7 separate regions of the Homo sapiens genome follow, and regions 1, 2, 4, 5, 6 and 7 are each linked to region 3. The links are contacts of gene promoters, found by promoter capture Hi-C in blood cells and fetal thymus (Javierre and others, 2016). All regions are on one chromosome and are shown on one strand. Each heading gives the region's core, a stretch centred on a gene start or on the middle of the fragment in contact. The rest is flanking DNA. Distances are from core to core; before and after follow the strand shown.

Region 1 (2,700 bases), core at 138-2,637, 1.4 Mb after region 3:
GGCATATACGTTTTAGTGACAAGTAAAGTCAGCAATTATCCTTAGAAAAAATTAGTTAAAATATTCTTCAAATTACAATGCTAGTAGAGAGTGAGATTATTTAAAACTTTTATTAATATAAACATTTCTTCAATCATTATCAATTTCTCCTTAAAAAGGTGTTTGTTGAAAAGTTGATTTACTTAACTTCACTGTATATAAAAATATAAAGTGATACAGAAATGTTGGTAATAGATTTTTACAGAATTATTTCTGTATTTATATATTTTTTTATTTTGCTGAAGTATGAATACTTACAGTAAACTCTAGAGATGTTATACAGTTCCATGGGAGTTTTCAAAAGCATAAGGCAAACTACATACATCTCTACCAAGATACAAAACATTTCTATTATCCCAGAAACTTCCTTCATGTCCCTTTCCAGTCAATCCCCTCGAAGCCTAGAGACCGTCACTTTCCTCCAATTTTGTCAGACATTAATTATTCTTGAATAACAGATTAATTTTTATTAATATCTTAGACATTCAAAGTTATGAAAATGCAATTTCTCCTAGTAAATCTGTTGAGTTATTTTCTTCCTTGGTCAGTCCTGTCTTACTGTGTCTTTATCATGAATATGAAATATGAAATTGCAGAAGCAATGAATAGAAAAAATATTTAAGCTTATAATTTGTAATGTCAACCTCTGAATTTAAAGATAAGTGAAAGATGATTGAAAATAGTTTTATTTACTAAGAATAATCTAAGCATGAAAAACAATAAGCACATGAGTGCTCCCGTCTGAAAGCTTCTACTTCTTTATGCCTAAAAAGGAAGGTATAATTTTGAAATATAATGATATATGAAATTTGAAATTTTGAAAAAGCACAAGAAAAATGGGCTGGAAATAAAATCCAGTAGCTCATTTTAGAGTAATGAAAAAGTTTTGTAGAAACAAAAAGAAAAGCTAATGCGTACAGAAATTTCATATTAATTTGCTACACCTATGAAAGAAATAGACTTTTAGGTCTTCTGTACCTGTTTGTATGTAAGTGTGGTTTTTTGTTTGTTGGTTTTGTTTTTTACATAATCTTAGAGTAGTTGTTTAGCTCTGGACTTGAGAGTTACCGCGCTAGATTTCTGATGCAAAAACTTGAAATCCTCAAAGGGATAGATCTATCTCAGAGCCTACCAAACTCTTTAAAATTTGCATATATGGGAAGATGTCTAAAATAAACTGTCGCTACAATTACAATTTTCTTTAATATTTCTAATACAAATAAGAGATGCTATGTTGTGTAATAACAAAATATTTTATATCCTTGATATTACTCTGCTACAAAAAGATAAGTTATATCAACTCAGAAAGAAAAATTTGTAGACCACTATAGGAAATATGTTTAATATTTTCAAGGGTGTAGTCTATATTCAATTCAGACATTTTAAAAGGCCAAAACTATTTTATTATGTTTCTTTCAAAGTTATGACTCATGATAAGTGTAAAGAAGCCTTCATAGAGATACTTTCTCTTTCTGTTTTGGCTGGGATATCAAAGGAGCTAGAGATTGGAAAGCTAGTTTTACCCCGTCAGTGATCACCTAGTAAAGACAGTAGACAGTAGAGTGAGGATTTGTTTGGGAAAACTTTTCCATGTGTTCTCTGTTCCTAAAGCCCTACTGCCACAGGGAGAAAAGAAGGCACCTTTCCCTTTCATCAGATGAAAGTATCTTCAAGCAAAATACTTACTTCCTGGAATTTTTAGTTGATAACAGAGAAAAATGGCTGTATTGTAAACCAACTGCAGTATAAAACCTGTAAGATTTATTTTGGCAAAATGTACCTGTGACAGGAAGTAGATTCATGTTAGACTTACACATAGCTAGAAAATTACTTAGAGTAATGGTTCTCAAAGTGTGGTCTGTGAACCAGCAGCAGCAGCATCCACTGGGACCTTGTTATTCATGCAAATTATTGGGCCCTAACCCAGATGATTGAATCAGAAGCTTGTGATTCGCAAGCACTCCAGGTGATTTTGATGCCTGCTGATGTGAGAGAGGTGGTGCTGGTGGAGAGAGAGTCTGTGTGAAGAGGATGACTTATGGCCTGAGGCAGAGAGAGGAGTCCACAGCCAGCACCTAGAATATGGATGTCAGAAATCCACAATTGTAAGTTCCCTCAGAGAGGGATCCAGGACTGATAGATCCAGCCAGTTGTGACTTCTTCATCTCCTAAGGGAATGAACTCTAGATTCCAGTTGCTCTGGATTTGCAAAAGTGTTCACATTCCCTAATGCAGGGCCCCTCAGCCTGACTCAGGATCTTGGTAATGGACATGATTTTTTTTTTTTTTTTTTTTTTTTTTTTTTGCTGAATACCTATTAAAACCAAGGCCCTGAGGCACTTTATAAAATACCTAAGCCTGATAAGTTAAAATTGAAAGTGTGGGTAAAGTTCTGTGAATTCTGATACACAAAGAGGTATGAGAGGTACTGGACTAGTGAGAATCTGAGGAGGCAAAAATATAAACAAAAGAAGAATTCCAGCTTCTTCCATCCTATCTCCACTGCATGCATCTAAGCCTGAAAACTCCATAAAAGGATCAGGTAGAAGGTAGAAAAAGAAAGAAGTTTTCCTGAACAGGACTTTTAAACTACTAACTCCATTAATATTTCAATCCACTCAACAAATATTCATTGAGTACCTACTTTGTCATATGTACCCT
Region 2 (2,979 bases), core at 200-2,699, 1.5 Mb after region 3:
GTATCACAAAATTGCTGGCCTCAAAAAACAAGTATCTCTGATCTTGTCATTTTGGAGTCAAAAGTCTGAACTAGGTCTCCTAGGGTAAAAAGAAAGCAGACAGCCGAACTATGTTTATTCCTTGAGGCTCTAGAAGAGAATCTGTTTTTCTTGCCTTTTCTAGCTCTTAGAGGCTACCTGCATTCTTTGGCTGATGCCCTCTGATTACAACTTCAAAGTCAGAAGTTTAGTGTCTGCAAACTTCTGTCTCTGACCTTTTTTCCCACCTATTTCTTTCACTTTAAATGTCCTTTGAGATTACACTTGGACTCATCCAGATAATCCAGAAACATTTCCTTGTTTTAAGGTCAGTGGATTTGCATCCTAATTCCATTGGCAACCATAATTCTTCTTTGCCATGTAACATAGCATATTTGCAGGCTCTAGGGATTAGAACACAGGCATCTTTAGGGGGCCATTATTCTGCCTACAACAGTGGGTTTGAGACTGAAAATTACAATTGCTGTCCATACTTAGTTAATCTCAAATTTTATGGTTATGAATTGTATGAGAATTTCTGATGATTCTCTCCCCAGTTCTACTAATTAAACTTTTGCATCTAAATCTTATAACTTAATATGAGACTAATAATGCCCATTTATTAATTATTTAATAAATATAAGTATATATTCAATTTATATGTATATATGTGTATATATGTGAGTGGGTATATATGTGTGGGTATGTGTATATACATGTATAAATAATACATATAAATACATATATATATATATATATATATATATATATATATATATATATATATATATATGGGCTTTCAGAGGAACCAATTATGTCAGAAAAAAACCCAGATGTTGTCATTGTATACACAAAAAAATAATTATAGTATTCATACATTTCTAAATAATATTCTGACATTATAAACATTTTGAGTGTTGAGAGCTGATATTAGGTTGGACCAAGGTTATAGTATTTCATGTGGATAGAAGAGATCAGATTCTTTATATAGTTATAGCCAACAGAATTTTATGGAAGTAACATGTGTGTAGATCAGGAAATAAAAGTGTAAGTCAATAATAACTCTAATGATTTTAGTCTGAGGAAATGGAAAAATGTGCTGGGAAAGGTTCCATTGAGTTTTGAACACTTTGAGTTTTTAATGTCCATTACCATTTTAAGGAGTGAGGATACATGTGCAGTTGGCTATGCAAGTCTGGAGTTTAAAAGGTAGAGTGGATATTTACAGGTATGAATCATTCACATGTCAGTGTGAAGCCATGAGGCTGAAGGAGAACATCAAATAGCTGGATAAAGACACCAATGAGAAAAGGACCAAGGATTGAATTCTGGCACAGGCTGGCAATAAAGAGGTCGTGTAGAAAGTGATACATCAGCAAATGAGATTAAAAACAAACAAACAAGAGGTACCAGAGTCAGGAGAGATTTTAGAACTCTACACACCAAGAGAAGAAAGTATGCCAATGAAGAGGGAGACATCAGTAATGATAAATTCTGCTGATAGGCCTAGTGAAATAGGGCCTGATCAACGAATGCTGAATTTACCATTGATCATTTAATCATCAATGAAATTGGCTCTGGGGCCTTGTGAAAATGCTTCTTTTATTGAACAGGACGCAATACTAAGTTGCTTTAAGAAGTCATTTTCCCTGCTACTGTCCCAATCTTTTGTAGTTTAAACAGGTGGGGCCACTGGAGGCTATAATTAGTTACCATATTCCCCTTGATATTGGTCAGATAAGGCATTTAGCAATAACTTAATTCATTTTTATTGGATTAACAAGTACTCAGTGTGAAAAGAAGAGAATCTGATGACTGATTAGTGACCAGTAGCCTCTAGCATCCCTATCCTGAATCATCCAATCCCTATGTAGCAGGTGTGAGGCTGGTATGTAGGTTTGGTCTCTGATATCCTTTCTAGGATCGACTCACTCTTCATCGTAGGCCTACCAACAAGATTCTCACTGCTGACCTACTATCCCATACTTCTCTACTGAATATGCAATACGCAATAAGCTATTCATCTGGCATTTCAATACTACTTGACCTGGATTTTTTCATCATTTTGTTCAGCCTCTATGTAGGGTACTTGATGGCAAGTAAACCTCATGTTCAGTTGACTGACCTAAATGAAGGTTGTTGTATCTTTTTAAAACTGTACCTGGATGATGATCCAGAGCCAGCCAATTCATGACACAGCCCTTCTAAGTCAGAAAGTGTTGTCTCCTGCAAGTTCCTAAGTATATGCCCCTACACTTCCCATTTTCTCTAATTGGCTAATTTCTAGAGCCACAAAACACTTGAATGGATCATGTTAAAAATGTCCATGTACATAAATATAACCATATTTATAAAATATATTTTTTAAATTCTTCACAAATATTTGCTAATTTGTCTCCTTGTAAGACACTGGAAAGAAGAACAGAATGTTTCCTAATTTCCTGTTGTCTTCTGTAATAGGAGAAACTGTGAGTGTATTACCCAGATTTGTTTTTTCTCACTTCAAATCATTGGTGTACCCAGCAAGATATTTCATCACATTGACTTCCTTTGCTTTCAAATAACTGTTTGATTGTGGGTAACAGCAACCAGAGATAAAATGATTCTGAGAAAAACCTAGCTGATATGTGAGCAGCACTAAAATGAATAAGGAAGACCACCTAAGACGACTGCCTCACTTGCAAAGATGTGACTGAGCCCCAGAGTGGTGTTTTTCTGTTAAGATTCTGATCATTCTATACTAAAATATAGAGAGGAGGAAGTGTAGATTGTATTTTGCAGTGTTGTCACTTTAGGGAGTGTAGGCTACCTAAAAAGCTCTGGAAAGTTTGATACTGGACAGATGCTTAAGGACTGCGTGCAGTCTATAGGATGAAGCATAAAATCTGCCACCAGGCTGCACCCTTTTTGGCATTTATAGTGTTGGCTGGTGACTCCTGCCTTTAAAATAAATTATAGATG
Region 3 (2,755 bases), core at 171-2,670:
CTGAAATTAAAAAAAATAAATATTCAGTTATTTCATCACACTAGGCACATTTCAAAAGCTCAATAGCCACATGTGGTTAGTGGCTACACTACTGAAAAGCACAGATCTAGGTCAACTGGCTTTTGTTGTTGTCCACATGTGAACTTAAACTGTAACGCAAATATAAGAGGAAATTATTTCACTTTGCATGCTGTGGAAGACAGAAAACTTTGAAATACATGAGAATGAAAAAAAAAAATTGAATATGGGTCATTCAGAGACCTTGCCAAGAAAGTAGAAAAGCTTCTGTATAAGAGTATCGAGGCGATGGTACTATTATAAAGCTGTTCCACCACCACCGGGAGAACATTCCCATCATTTCAACAGTCCCCTTACGTTTTAGTCTACTTTTTTCTTAAAAAAAAAAGAAAAAAAGGAAAAGAGAAAGAAAAAGAAAAATTGAATCTGTAGAGGGCTTGCGCTGGATACCATGCTGCATGCACAAAGGGGGTGACATTTAGGGCTTGCTCTCAATTAGAGTGCAATTTAATCTTCTAGTCACTAGGAATAACGACGTTTTATGACATTTTTGCCTGTTGGAATTTTGAACCTAAGGTGAACCGGCTGACATCATATCCCCCTTCTGTTGTTGTCACAGGTTTTCAAAATTTGGTTTGATCTAAATTCTCTGGTACCTTATGTCCCATAAAAATTTCATCTAGTTCGTAAGTAGTGATTGCTGCAGTAACCGTCTTATAAAAGTATATGGTTTTTACAAATCATTGTCGTATAGAAGAAAAAACAGGTAGCAATATAAATATTTCATACTACTTTATCTAGTTCCAAAATAATCAGAAAAGAGCCATCAAAAAATATCCTACGCTTAACTTCATGTTCTCAAGTTTCAAGAGAAAGTTTTTAAAGAGGCAATCCTTACTTTGGCAAAAATGCATTAAAGCTTGCTGCATTTAAGAGATGTCCCATTATGCAAACAGGTTGAAAGAATATTACAAATACGTTTTGGAAAAATACGGAGTGTCGCGCAGCTCAGCAATCCGCAGTCTTAATGCGCGCCTCTTTCCAGGAATTTGATCCAGCATCAAAACCCACAGGTGCACTCACCACACGGGAGTAACAAGTAAATGATGTGCCAGTATTCAACCTGCAAGTGCGTCGTCAGAGCCTACCTCACCCTCAGCATAACTTTCACCGGTATTCACCTTCCCGGAAACGCGCCCCAGTGAACCAGCACCGTTTTCCCTAGTAAAGCCCTTAAGCAGGGTTCCCACGCTCCTGGGCGTGGAGGGGGGCACCGAGAGCGCAAAGGATTCTTAAGACATGACTGCGCAGGCGCTGTCGCATGCGCCGCACTCCCCTCGCATGCGCCGCACTCCCGCGCATAGCCGGAGACGGAGACTGGCCGGGTAGCCCCGCCCCCGTAGTTAGCGCGGTGCTTCTCTTCCGCTCCGGGTCGGCTCCGTTTCCCTTTCCGGGCGGGCAGGCGGCGGACCCCAGTGTCTTTATCCCTCTTTTGCACAGTCAGCTTCTGCAGCTCTCCCGGGCTAGCATGGCAGCGTGGAAGAGTTGGACGGCCCTGCGGCTCTGCGCCACAGGTAATGGGGGCTCAGCGGTCGGGACGCTGGCGGGCGCGTGGGACCTGGCCCCGCCGTGGGGCCGGGATTGGACCCGGGTCTGGGGCGAGGCCTGCGGGGTTCGTGGAGATGCCCACCCATTCCCGGCAGCGTCCTGCCGCCCCCGCCGCGCCACCCTGCCTGGCCCTGACGGAGCGGACACCTTGGGGTCCTTCCGCCGCCGCTGTGCCGGACCAATGCTGGACGTGGGAAGGGCGCGCTGCCTTGTGTTTGTGTTTTTCTCATTGTGGCAGAAGTTTCAATAAAGCTTACTCCTTTGATGGGCAAGAAGGATGCCGCCGTCCCAGCTTAACGACCAAATCTTGCCTTGGCTTTAGGTTCCGAGTCTTGTCACGTTTAAGGATTTTTACCACCAGTACTCAAGAGAGGGTGGTCGAGGACAGATCAGGGTCAGGCCGCCGGGATTGTGCGGTGTGAAAAGGACCTGAGTGTGTGTCAGCGGTTCTCAGCTGCCTCCCGTCAGCATGGAGTGCCCTCATTCTCACTGGGGTCCGCTCACTTAACAACCTTTTAGAGCCCACTCTGTGTCAGGCACTGCCGTGTAATAAGTATTAGAGTTGCAGCTCGACTTTCTTCCTACGTATCTATTTGAGGGGAAATATTTTGAATGGCATTTGGAGTTTTTACGGAAGAGGTAATTGCTACTAAAGCAAAAGAAATAAAGAAGAATGCTGTCTATTTGTATTCCAAAAAGATAGGATGGTTAAAAAGAGACGTAAGATGAGAGTGAAAATATGGAGGAAAAAGGAACTGTGTGTATTAGATTTATTGGCTTACCTAGAACTTGGCCGGTCACGATATGGTTGCATACAGACTAAATATTTATTAAATGGATGAACTACCTTTGCTTTTGCATCATTTGCACCCTGGGATGCATCAGTGATGAATTTTTTGGTAGGTTGTGAAAGGTCAAAAACACTTCAGAGATGACTAAGCTTATACGGTATGAGCCAAATAATCAGCATTTATTGTGTACATTTTGTCTTTTTTTTTCAGTTGTTGTACTTGATATGGTCGTCTGTAAAGGATTTGTAGAAGATTTAGATGAATCGTGAGTATACATATATATATTTAAAATATTATTTTAACTGTCCAACTCAGATATCTGAATATTTGCATGTGAT
Region 4 (2,700 bases), core at 91-2,590, 1.4 Mb after region 3:
TGTTCATATGTCACACTTTACCACCCAGATCAACATGCAGCTCCTGGAATTCCTCCAGATTACATTATTATATCCCCACTCTAAATTTCTAAAAAAGGTTACTGCTGGTAACATTCTTTAATACCTAGTGCTATACTTATAGGTGTGTAAGATGTCTGTGCTAATGATACGCCAAGAATTCCAGAGTAAATGCTGTTTCTTAAAGATCATTACATCCCCTAGAGCCGAGCTATTTGTAAGGACTTTTCAGAAAGTATCACTTAATACATTTTAAATTGGATTTAATTGTACCCAGGATGCATGGTGTTTTTAATATCACTCACCAGGAAATAAACTTTAAAAGTGGGTTAACAAATAAAATGCTCACGGCAGTGTTAATTTCCCCTTTCCTCAGGCCCTAGGCAAACTCTGCTTTTAATCATATTTTATTGTGCTTGCCTATTCATGTCTGTTTTCCCTGATGGTCAATGCATTTCTTGAAGACATGGGACTGTGTCTTTCTTCTTTCTTTCCTTTTTCTCCTCCTCTTCCCCTTCTTCTTATCCTTCTACTTTCTCTCTCTTCCTTTCTTCCTCTCTTTCTCTATCTCTCTTTATCTCTCTATGCACACATATAAAATATATGCACATATCTGTTTATATTTGTATATATCTCTAGTCCACGCAATAACACATTGCTTATATAAATTTGATGTCTAGTTCTTCTTGAATAAATTATTCATTTAGATTTCAAGCTTGATACTAAATATTTAAATTTTTACTGTGCATTCCATTTGTCACACTTTGTTTGCAATGGAGAGAAGAGCCAGTGAGTAGTACGTCTTTGTTAATAAACAGAATGCATCTCTGCTTCTCTTCTCACCATGATAACCTGAGTTGGAGAACCCGACAAATGATAAATGGAAAAAGTGATGGCCTTTTTTGTTGTTGTTTTCTTTCTCCTAAGGCTGTGGAATCTAGAGATAACCACAAGAATATATTGAAAGTTCTATTTTTTCTTTAAATCTCCTTCACTCTGCTTGGGTGTTTTAACGTCTTCCTAGGGAGAAAAGATTACCAGTCACTCCTCTTTATCTCTTCATTCATGTAACAAATGCTTATAGAATTCCTATTGTGGGCTAGGCATGATTTTAGTCCCGCAGGCAATTGCAGCTTATTAACAAGAAAACAGTGTCTTCTGCTGTCAAGAAGAGTCCAGGGCAGTCACAACCCACACATTACTGGGTCTGTTTCTTAGGCCAGTATATGATATCAACAAATATCAGCTCCACAAAACAGTTCTTTGAAGTAGTTAAAAGTATCCATATTTCACAGATGAGGAAACTGAGTCAAAGAGAGTTTCCAAGACTGGAACATGACAAATGTCCAGCCCCCTTGATTTAGCTCCTAACCAGAGGAGGTAGTGTTCTGTTGTGTTTTGATTTCATTCATTAAATGACAGATCTCTAGTGAGGTGGTGGTTGTTCCTTGTAGGCTGTTCTTTTTTTTTCTTTTTCTTTTTTTTCACCATTTCTACCTCCGTGGAGTTGAGGTAGTTAATATTTCTGAGCTGGTACTTTCTTTGCCAAATCTTTCTCTTTTTCCATTGTGTTGTGAATGCCTACCTTGCAACATATTTGAAATATAGAATGAATGAAAACAAACAAGAAAAATACCCCAAACATTTTAATGAACACAAGGATTTTAAAAAATATATCCGTTTCAATAGATACCATAATAGACCCATAGGTGGGGCAAAGCGAATGTTAGTCAGATACATTAATTTAAAAAAAATGAATTTTATTGCAATATGTATTTAAGTATTAGAAGAAAGAAATGAATGTACACCACATACATATAGTACTTCATTTTATTCTCAATCAACCATGTAATGTTGGTGTTATGATGCTTCTTTGCCTCATGAGTAACTTGAGGTTGCACAGATCTTTATAAATTCTAAAAAGCTTTCATTGAGAATAACAACCATGCCTCAAACGTTTCAGTATAGCCGGTGTTTATTAGGTGGTTTTAAGACTCAGGCTATGCAATTTTCTTAATACACATTTTTTTTAATCCGACTTTCCTTTATTACTTAGACAGGTGTTCTGTAGGTAACGGTTTTCTGTATGCTGCTGAAGCATACAGTATTTCTACTATATAAAGGTAGAAAACATGTTACATATGTGAATACTTCTGTTCAAGGCTCTGATTCTTGGGAAATAAAAAGAAATAAAAACATGTGACCAAAATGATAAAAAGGGTCAAATTATTATATATGTCTCATGATCAGGTAACATTAGTGAGTATATTTGCTTCCCCACATTCACGCAAAAATCGCCTCATTTCTGCTATGCAATTCAATATGAAGCATAATCAAGCAATTCAATTAAAATGGAAATAATAACAAGATAAGGACGTTGAGCAGCTACACTCAGCTTGAACTTGAATATACTATCTTTTCTGTTCCATCTTTTTTATATATATTCAGCATTTGATTAGTGCACATTACATCATTCTCAAGCATAGTGAAATATTTTATACTTTGTCAGAAATATCTCACAGCCTTGTGACACTCATAATTCTTTGAAAAATTTTAAATAAAACAATCAAACTACCAGCTCTTCCATAGCATCTCTACTCACAAATTCTCTACATCTGTTCAGCAATGTTGACATGCAGGCTGCTGCTGCCCAGCTAGAAATAACCTTTCTGTTATCCCTTC
Region 5 (2,700 bases), core at 35-2,534, 1.5 Mb after region 3:
AATATGAGATATATCTAAGAATAATAAGATACAACTGAAATTAATTGAGTAATCTATTTTACTATGATTTTGTTTTATTTTAGGTGCTGCATGTTAGACAACTTTTTTGATAGTATAGTTCACAAAAATTTTATAGGAAGTAAAGCATAGTTTTCCTTCCATACTTTACTTCCTATAAAATATATTTATTCCTCGTATATACCATACAAGGAATATACCTCGTATATTCCATGCATGGAATATTCCTCGTATATTCCATGCATGGAATATTCCTCGTATATTCCATGCAAGGAATATTCCTCGTATATTCCATGCAAGGAATATTCCTCGTATATTCCATGCAAGGAATATTCCTCGTATATTCCATGCAAGGAATATTCCTCGTATATTCCATGCATGGAATATTCCTCGTATATTCCATGCAAGGAATATTCCTTGTATATACAATAACTTCTTATTCTTAAAATGATATCTTTAAAAAGTACCTTGATATTCTGATCTATGTAAACTGTATATTTTTCTCATGGTTAAACTTCAATCATACTACCTGCAACCTTGAAAATTGACCTAAATGTATTTTGTAGCAAATACACTCAATAAATTTTTACTAAATGAATACGTGTTGTTTTATTTAATTGATTTTTCCAATTAGTAAGGCAAAGGTAAGTGCACCAACATTTACCTTTACTGAGCCCACTACCCGTAAGCTTATATAAGTTGTCTCACTTTAACAGTTTTTGTAACTGAATTTCATCATGGAGATGAAGTATGAGGTCTTGCAGACAAGTTGCTATGAAATCTACATCAGTATGGCACATCAGTCGATTTCATATATCCTTACAAATGACTTCTGATCCCCTTCTTTGTGTCTGTTTTTATCTGTTCCTTATAAGTATCGCTTGAAACAATTAGTCGTCTGATGTCCTTAGGTTTCCAAACATTCACATTAAGCTCTTGTAAACCTTTACAGAGTACAAAATCAATGTTGAGACTTTTTCGGGATTATTTTGTCTGCTTCTTTTAAGTGTGCTGTTGAATGTGCCTCAAATAATTTCAGTGCATGTGTGACGAGAACAGGCTAAATCACAGACTGAGTCTAGAGAGCTGATTATTAGTAAACCCTAAACAGGAAGCTGGGATAAAAGGCTAAGTAATTAGAAAATCAGACAAGTATGAAGATCTAAGACAAACATTCTGAGAATGTAAACAACTTGATCAGGAAAAGAAAAAGAAAAGAAAGAAAAGGCATATGCAAAAAAAAAAAAAAAAAAAAAAAAATTAAAAGCCCAGAAGTGTAGACAGATTAATTGGCTTCACAAAGAAAAAGAAATCACACAGCTGTCATATTCACTCAAGACATAAAAAATGATGTGTGGATCTATGATAGAAAAAAAAGCATAAAAGCAATGGAAAGTGTCTATGTGTCCGTACCATTCTTTCAAATTGCATGGCTTAGACATAATCATACCAATTTAAAACAAGTGCCAGTTACAGCTCTGGAAAGTGACTATTTGGAGATCTCCATCACCCTTAGGTGACATATTCACAGCTTCTAGATAGGACATTATGTTGAGGGACTTATCATAAATAAGAACAGCACTCTAACATGAGTCAAATAATTCAATAGTATATGCCTACACATAAGGGAGAAATCTTTCCTATTCAAGCAAGTATACCAAGTAATGAAGGCAAAGAGAATGAAAGTTACAGAGCAGTCATCTTATGAAAGTGAAAATGCAAAGTGAAGCATGCTGCAACTTGTAAAAAACAATGAAATCACAGGAGCAAATCAGATTAGCGGCACCAAAAAATGGTTTAACCTGCTGAATCAAGTGCTTTTTAAGCTGGAACACAAGCTTGAATAAGACAACCCCGGAACTACAAAATAACTTCTCTCTTTTCCTAATGCTAGCCTTGCTCTATCTTCAGCATATCAAGTTCCTTTTATCTTTTTTTTCCCTGAGCCCTTAAATCTTATTAATTACTTTGTGATATTGGTAATGCTTTTTACATTTTGAGAAATATTGTGAAACATTTAATTCAATGGAGTGTAGAAAGTTATCTAGCTCCACCCACATAGTCTATCCAGGTTTCTTCTACCCATGTGATTCTGAATTTCTGTTCGCCAACCCCCAAATCATTTTCTCCTCTTCCCATGCAAACCCTTATTCCACAAATTATGAAAAACTACCGTGATGGTTAAAAATCTATTTATACCCCTTCATCACTTGAAAATAGTACTTTCACTGTAGTCTCTGTAATCAAGAGTTGCTCATCAGGTATTTATGTGCTGGTCAGAATACTGACCTCTCCAAAGTGTCACATCTTAATAGTCAGAACTTGTGAGGACATCACAGTACCTGGGGAAAAGAGGGACTTTGCATTTAGATTTAATGTTAGGGGCCTTAAAATAGAGATTACCTTACATTATCTCAGTGGGCCCAATCTAACCACATGAGCTCTTAAAAGCAAACAAAACAAAACAAAACCGTTTTTCCAGCTGGAGTTAGAGAGATACAGTAGAAAGGGAAGAAACCAAGAGGTTTGAAGCATGAATTTTATGTCACCTACTGTTTCTAGAGGGAGCCACATGGAAAGCATAAGAAGAAATGTGGGCAGTTTCGAGGAGCAAAGGCTGATCCCCTGACAACCAGCATAAAAGTGGAGACCTCAGGTCTATGAGGACCTCAGTTCTACAAC
Region 6 (2,860 bases), core at 110-2,609, 1.5 Mb before region 3:
ACGAAATCTCACTCTGTCTCCCAGGCTGGAGTGCAGTGGTGCAGTCTTGGCGCACTGCAAGCTCCACCTCCCGCCTCAGCCTCTCAAGTAGCTGGGATTACAGGCTCGTGCCACCACAACCAGCTAATTTTTTGTATTTTTAGTAGAGACGGGGTTTCGCCATGTTGGCCAGGTTAGTCTTGAACTCCTGACCTCAAGTGATCTGCCCGCCTCGGCCTCCCGAAGTGCTGGGAGCCACTGGGTCTGGCCTCTGTGGCATTTTGTGTGGTCAGTTAATCACACATGTGTTCAATGTCCTGTGTGTTCCTAGTGGTCAGGCTGCTACAAGAGGCAGGTTTATAATAAAATAAATACATTAGCCCTACTTTTATTAGGGGAGGTAGAGCTACAAAGAAGTAATCAAAGAACCAGGCAACTTGATTGTAACTTTAAGCTTACTCAGAGTTAAATAATAGAAAGTCTCATGTGGCATTTAGCTAGGGAATTTTCCTACATTTCTCCACCTCGGCTGACATTTTTAGGTTGCTTGATGAGAAAGTGGACTTAAACAAATGTAAACAGTCTCATGGTCTCTGAATGGTCTAATTTCTTGAAGCTGCTTAGTTAGCTGTTGAGAATATCATTGCACATGAACTTGACATTTATTGTTCCATTCTGCTTCTTTTGTAGGGAGAGAAGAATCTCTTAGAATTAGTGGAGCTGGCAGACCAAGCCTTGCGTAGCTTTTCCTATCATCAGCATTTCCCGCTAATAAAGGAAATCATCAGCATTTGTTCAAAGATGTAATATTTTCTTTCTTAATGTGATTACGTTATTATTGGACACTTAGGGTGTGTGTAAACTTAGAAACAGTGAAAGTGAAACTGACTGTATATCTTTGTTATTATTTTTTAGTTTAATTGCTTTTATATGTGTCTGATTTTTAAAGGGTATATGTACAGCTGCATTAGGATACTTAACTGTTATATTCAAGATTAAACTTCAAAAATGTCATGCCTACAATCAAAATGAATAATCCTTGGATTTTTATACATTTGTTTTTGGTATCCATCCAGACTATTCACACACATTGTTTATTTATCTTTAAAGTTTTAATTAATAACTTAAACTGAGAGTTTTGTAACTTTTATTACTTTGTACCTTTTTCTTATGTGGATTTTTAGAAAAGACTGTGTATTGGTTAATTTATTTTGAGGACATCAGCAAATTTCTATTTAGAACTTAGTGTCTTTATTGCTTTTGGAAAGAATAAATTCTGTGATGTGATAATCATTAACTGAGTAGGGGATTTTAAAGACATTTTGGGTTTTTAAAAATACTCTTTAAGACAGAACCTCCTCTGCCCTGAAACAAATAAGTGCTTAGGTGAGTACTTGCTAGTATTGGTTATTTTTAATAAGATCTCAGTTTGAGGAGTTGGAGTAGGAAGAAATCCCTTCCAGTATGCTTTGCAGTCTTTTGCTTACTAACTTACTTGCCTCACATGTCTTGGTTGTTTTACCTTTTCACCAGCTGGAAATCTGCTCAGGCCAGTCCATTACTACAAGGAGAAAGTCAGAAGGTGCTTCTCCATATGTTGTCTCACCCATTGCCACGAGTGAAAGCTGAAACTTACCACTGCTGTCTGGAAATCACGAAGGTGAGGTTTTGTTTTTTCGTATGTTTTGTTTTTGAGAACAAATAGTAGACTCTCTTGTTATACCTTCAAACTTAATTTACTTGACCTTTTGTATGAGATATAAGAACTATATCCCATAAAAGTAGATGATAATTACTAGTCAATTCTGGAAAATTTGTACTATTAAATTCTCTTAACTTAGTAAGTCCAGCAATTGAATTGCTTTATTTGAAGTTTTATTAAGAATTACATTTATGTTGTATTAATGATGGAAAAATTATAAGGAAAATTGATTTCCAGGTATTCAAAAGTGATTTCTATGCCCAGGAAACCTTTTAGGTTGTTGTGGCCTAGATTTTATGGTTTTAATTCTGTTTTTTTTAATGTTATTTTTTATTTTTCTTTTCTTTTGAAATATTTATTTTTCTGTCTTCTTAAATGATAAAATATTTCAGCATAGAATATTAAATATTTCAATATTGAAAAGAACACTGTACATAGGACAATATTTAAAAGTATATATATTACTGCGTACTCTTGAAAGTGTCCTTTTGTATTTAACACTCTTGTAAGTACTATTTGGTTATAATAAGTGTTTACATTTTGCCATTTTTACTTCTGATTCATTTTTATTCAAAGAAAAATACTAGTTATAGAGGAAGCTTCTTTGCTTTCTCTTCTCCCACCAGCATAGCCTAGCCACTCTTACACAGCTGGTGTATATTCTTCCCATCCAGTTGTTGTATATTATTTATAAAGCTGTATCTTTATATATAAATATTATCTTTAAATAATTTAAAGAATTTTATATATAGCATGATTAGTATATATAGCAGGATTTGAGATTTGCCTAGTTCATTCACCTTAACTGCTATTAAGTTTGAATATACTTCCTTTTATTGAATGATAAATATTTAGGTTCAGTCTCCTTTTTATTGAAGTAAGTTTTTCAGTATTTTCAGTGACAGTCTGTGACTGTGTGCATACGTTTGAAAATGTCATGATTTCACTTTATTTTGAATAGTAATTTGGCTGCATATAAAATACAGGTTGACTGCTAGTTTTTATTAGCACTTTGCCAGTATTGCTTAATTCTTATTCGGCTTCTATCATTGTTGAGAAGTCTGATATCAGTTAATTATGATTTCTTTTAATTTTTTTCTCTAGTTTGTTTTAAAATATTTTCCTTTTCTGTGGTGCCCTGCGGTTTCATTAAAATATGTCTCCATGCATACATGATTT
Region 7 (2,790 bases), core at 108-2,607, 1.5 Mb before region 3:
TATTGGTGAAGCAATTTCAACAGATATCTGGGATGACAGCAGCCTTTTTGGTATAGATATGGTAAGAATCAATGTTTTCTTTGGGATATAGGGAATAGTATTTTTTAAGATTTTGGTTCTTTTAAGCCGGTTTCATTGTCTCATTCGTGTTCAAAATCTTTTTTCTTTTTGACTCAATATGTCCCAGGCTTATGTTATAAATAGCCTGGAACAGGCCTATTTTTCCAAAGGTTCTGGTTACTTCTAATAGTGGAACGTATATTAAGACCAAAACCAGGCCATTAGAGGTGGTTATAGCTACTGTGATATCATTCTTTTCTTTCAGGAACAATTAGGAAATACGTATTTTTAAAGATCGTGAGTTTATTGCTATTTTTCTTATTTTAAATTTGTATTTCTTATCCTTGCGCTTGTAGAAAGTCTTCGTTCCTAGCAATATCAGCATAATTGCTTATTAGCTTTGACCTTAAACATACATAAGATAGTTTCAGAACAGCAATATTAACATTGCTATGAACAATTCTAATGAAAAGTTCAAGATTTCCTGGCAGTTCTTTTTGAGATAGACTAATCTCACTAAGGATATACAGTCAAAATACTGTGCCTTAAAGCTACCGTTACCCATTCAGCATACAGTTAGATTTTTTTTTGTTTGTTTTCACTATTGGGAATTGTTTTTTCTTCATAAAAATGTAGCTCAGAGATGCCTCTCTCCCATCCAGTTACCTTTAAGATGTTTTCCTTATTGGTAGTCATTTTTATTTTCTGGCTATTTTTTTCTATTTTTATTTTATTTTTGCAAATGTAAGCAACTAAGTATGTAGATTCTTATCCTCTCCCCATCCTGCATAAAAGGTGGTATATTATAGACACTGTTTTGCACCCTGTTTTTATAACTTAAAAATACGTCTTATGTGCATAGAATAGTAGGTATGAGGATTATTCCCTATCTATCTATACGTGAGATTTTCTCGTTCTTTTTTATAGGTAGCAAATGCTTCGTTGTGTATTTGTTAACCTAGTCTCTTGATGGATATTATTGTTAATATAAATTATGTACAAAGAATAATGGGCTTATGCTATTTCATAAATGTGCAGGTATGTCTCTAGGGTAGATTTATTTAAGTGGGCATGCTGTTTTTCTAAAAAACTTTTATTTAGCTTCAGCGGTACGTGTGCAGGTTTGTTATGTAGGTAAACTGTGTCATGGGGGTTTGGTGTACAGATTATTTTGTCACCCAGGTAATAAGCCTAGTACCCGATAGGTAATTTTTGTGGTCCTCCTCCCACTCTCTGCCGTCGAGTAATCCCTGGTGTCTGTTATTCCCCTCTTTGGGTCCATGTGTTCTCATTGTTTAGCTCCCACTTATAAGTGAGAATATGTGTATTTGGTTTTCTGTTTCTGGATTAGTTTGCATAGGATAATGGCCTCCAGCTCCATCCATGTTGCCGCAAAGGATATGATCTCATGCATTTTTATGGCTGCATAGTATTCATTGGTGTGTATGTACCACATTTTCCTTAATCAGTCTCCCATTGATAGGCATTTAGGTTGATTCCATGTCTTTGCTATTGTGAATAGTGCAGCAGTGAACATACACATGTATGTGTCTTTATGGTAGAATGGCCTCAAGTGATCTGCCTGCCTTGGTCTCCGAAAGTGCTAGAATTACAGGTGCGAGCCACCGCGCCCGGCTGAGCCATGTTGTTTATGTAGTAGTACAGCAGTTCCTCACTTGGCATCATAGATAGGTTTTCGGAAACTGTGACTTTAAGCAAACTGACTTATAACAAACCCAGTTATTTTTTCTCATCAGCATTTAGTGAAATGGCATGGAACTTGTAATGCTGTTTCATTAAAGTCAGTTTCCAAGAACCTGTTGACCAAGTTAAGTGAAGGCTTACTGTAGTTTATTCATTTTATTTCTGAGTAGTATTACATTGTGTGGACATACCACAATTTGTTTATCCATTCACCTGTTGGTGGACAATGGGGTTGTTTCTAGTTATTACAAATAACATTCCTATGGACATTCCAGTTGTTCCACATCTTCAACATCTATTATGTTCAGTTTTTTTTTTTTTTTTGGGGGGGAGAGGGCATTCTGATAGATGTGCAATGGTATCTTAGTGGGTTTTAATTTGCATTTCCCTAGTGACTGATGATTATGAGCATCTTTTGTAATTTTTAGAGAGCAAGTCTAGGTTTTTTTTTAAAAAAACACTTATTCTTAAGTATTCTTTTCAATGCCATTGTGAATGAAAATTTTAAAAGTTTTTGGATTGCTCATTGTTAGTATATAGAAATACAATTGATTTTTGTGTATTGATCGTCTATTTGGTGGCCTTGCTGAACTTACTAGTTCTGGTAGTTTTTTTTGTTTTGTTTTGTTTTCTGGTAGATCCCTTAGGATTTTCTATCTATAAAATCTTGTTATCTGTGAATAAAAACAGTTTTAAGATCATCTTATCTGTGAATAAAGACAGTTTTATTTCTTTCTATTCACTCTGGATACCTTTAATTTTTTTAAATTGCCTAATTGCCCTGGCTAGAAGCCTTAGTATAATGTTGGATGGATGTGGTGAGAGCCTTCTTCATGATTTAGAGGGAAGCATTCGATCTTTCACCATTAAATACAAGATTAGCTCTAGTACATTTGTATTTTGTAGATGCCTTTATAAAGTTGAGGAAGTTCCATGTATTCTTAGTTTGTTGAAAGTTTTGATCATGAATGATTATTGTATTTTGCCAAATCTTTTGTCTCTATTGAGATGATCATTTAGCTTTTT

What was found. Contacts are between HindIII fragments. The CHiCAGO score rates a contact against its expected background, and 5 or more counts as called.
Region 1: a contact is called between a fragment that was not itself captured here and the fragment with the promoter of TMX3 in region 3, in 4 of 17 cell types (naive CD4 T cells, endothelial precursors, total CD4 T cells and 1 more). The highest score is 6.0, in naive CD4 T cells.
Region 2: a contact is called between a fragment that was not itself captured here and the fragment with the promoter of TMX3 in region 3, in 7 of 17 cell types (total CD4 T cells, naive CD8 T cells, total CD8 T cells and 4 more). The highest score is 12.6, in total CD4 T cells.
Region 4: a contact is called between a fragment that was not itself captured here and the fragment with the promoter of TMX3 in region 3, in 1 of 17 cell types (total CD4 T cells). The highest score is 5.8, in total CD4 T cells.
Region 5: a contact is called between a fragment that was not itself captured here and the fragment with the promoter of TMX3 in region 3, in 3 of 17 cell types (naive CD8 T cells, total CD8 T cells and naive CD4 T cells). The highest score is 15.3, in naive CD8 T cells.
Region 6: a fragment that was not itself captured here is called in contact with the fragment with the promoter of TMX3 in region 3 in 8 of 17 cell types (total CD4 T cells, non-activated CD4 T cells, M1 macrophages and 5 more); the score reaches 11.9 in total CD4 T cells.
Region 7: a contact is called between a fragment that was not itself captured here and the fragment with the promoter of TMX3 in region 3, in 12 of 17 cell types (total CD4 T cells, activated CD4 T cells, non-activated CD4 T cells and 9 more). The highest score is 24.0, in total CD4 T cells.

What each region holds. Positions count from the first base shown.
Region 1 is chr18:67,301,062-67,303,761 of GRCh38, reverse strand. No RefSeq gene overlaps it. Among named protein-coding and RNA genes, the nearest start is that of DSEL-AS1, 210 kb to the left of the region's middle. The HindIII fragment of the contact is 1,195 bases long and covers 790-1,984 here.
Region 2 is chr18:67,241,136-67,244,114 of GRCh38, reverse strand. No RefSeq gene overlaps it. Among named protein-coding and RNA genes, the nearest start is that of MIR5011, 160 kb to the right of the region's middle. The HindIII fragment of the contact is 3,640 bases long and covers 1-2,979 here.
Region 3 is chr18:68,713,773-68,716,527 of GRCh38, reverse strand. TMX3 (thioredoxin related transmembrane protein 3) reads left to right here and starts at 1,420. Exons shown (of 16, transcript NM_019022.5): 1 at 1,420-1,592; 2 at 2,628-2,682. The coding sequence starts at 1,547. It also overlaps a transcript of CCDC102B not described here. RefSeq lists an enhancer at 1,093-1,162 and silencers at 1,363-1,492, 1,673-1,772. The HindIII fragment of the contact is 941 bases long and covers 940-1,880 here.
Region 4 is chr18:67,278,231-67,280,930 of GRCh38, reverse strand. No RefSeq gene overlaps it. Among named protein-coding and RNA genes, the nearest start is that of MIR5011, 200 kb to the right of the region's middle. The HindIII fragment of the contact is 1,209 bases long and covers 736-1,944 here.
Region 5 is chr18:67,261,133-67,263,832 of GRCh38, reverse strand. No RefSeq gene overlaps it. Among named protein-coding and RNA genes, the nearest start is that of MIR5011, 180 kb to the right of the region's middle. The HindIII fragment of the contact is 1,149 bases long and covers 710-1,858 here.
Region 6 is chr18:70,164,841-70,167,700 of GRCh38, reverse strand. RTTN (rotatin) reads left to right here. Exons shown (of 49, transcript NM_173630.4): 13 at 670-782; 14 at 1,513-1,639. Among named protein-coding and RNA genes, the nearest start is that of RTTN, 39 kb to the left of the region's middle. RefSeq lists an enhancer at 1,364-1,493. The HindIII fragment of the contact is 1,847 bases long and covers 436-2,282 here.
Region 7 is chr18:70,185,379-70,188,168 of GRCh38, reverse strand. It overlaps RTTN (rotatin), which reads left to right. Exons shown (of 49, transcript NM_173630.4): 10 at 1-61. Among named protein-coding and RNA genes, the nearest start is that of RTTN, 19 kb to the left of the region's middle. The HindIII fragment of the contact is 3,709 bases long and covers 1-2,790 here.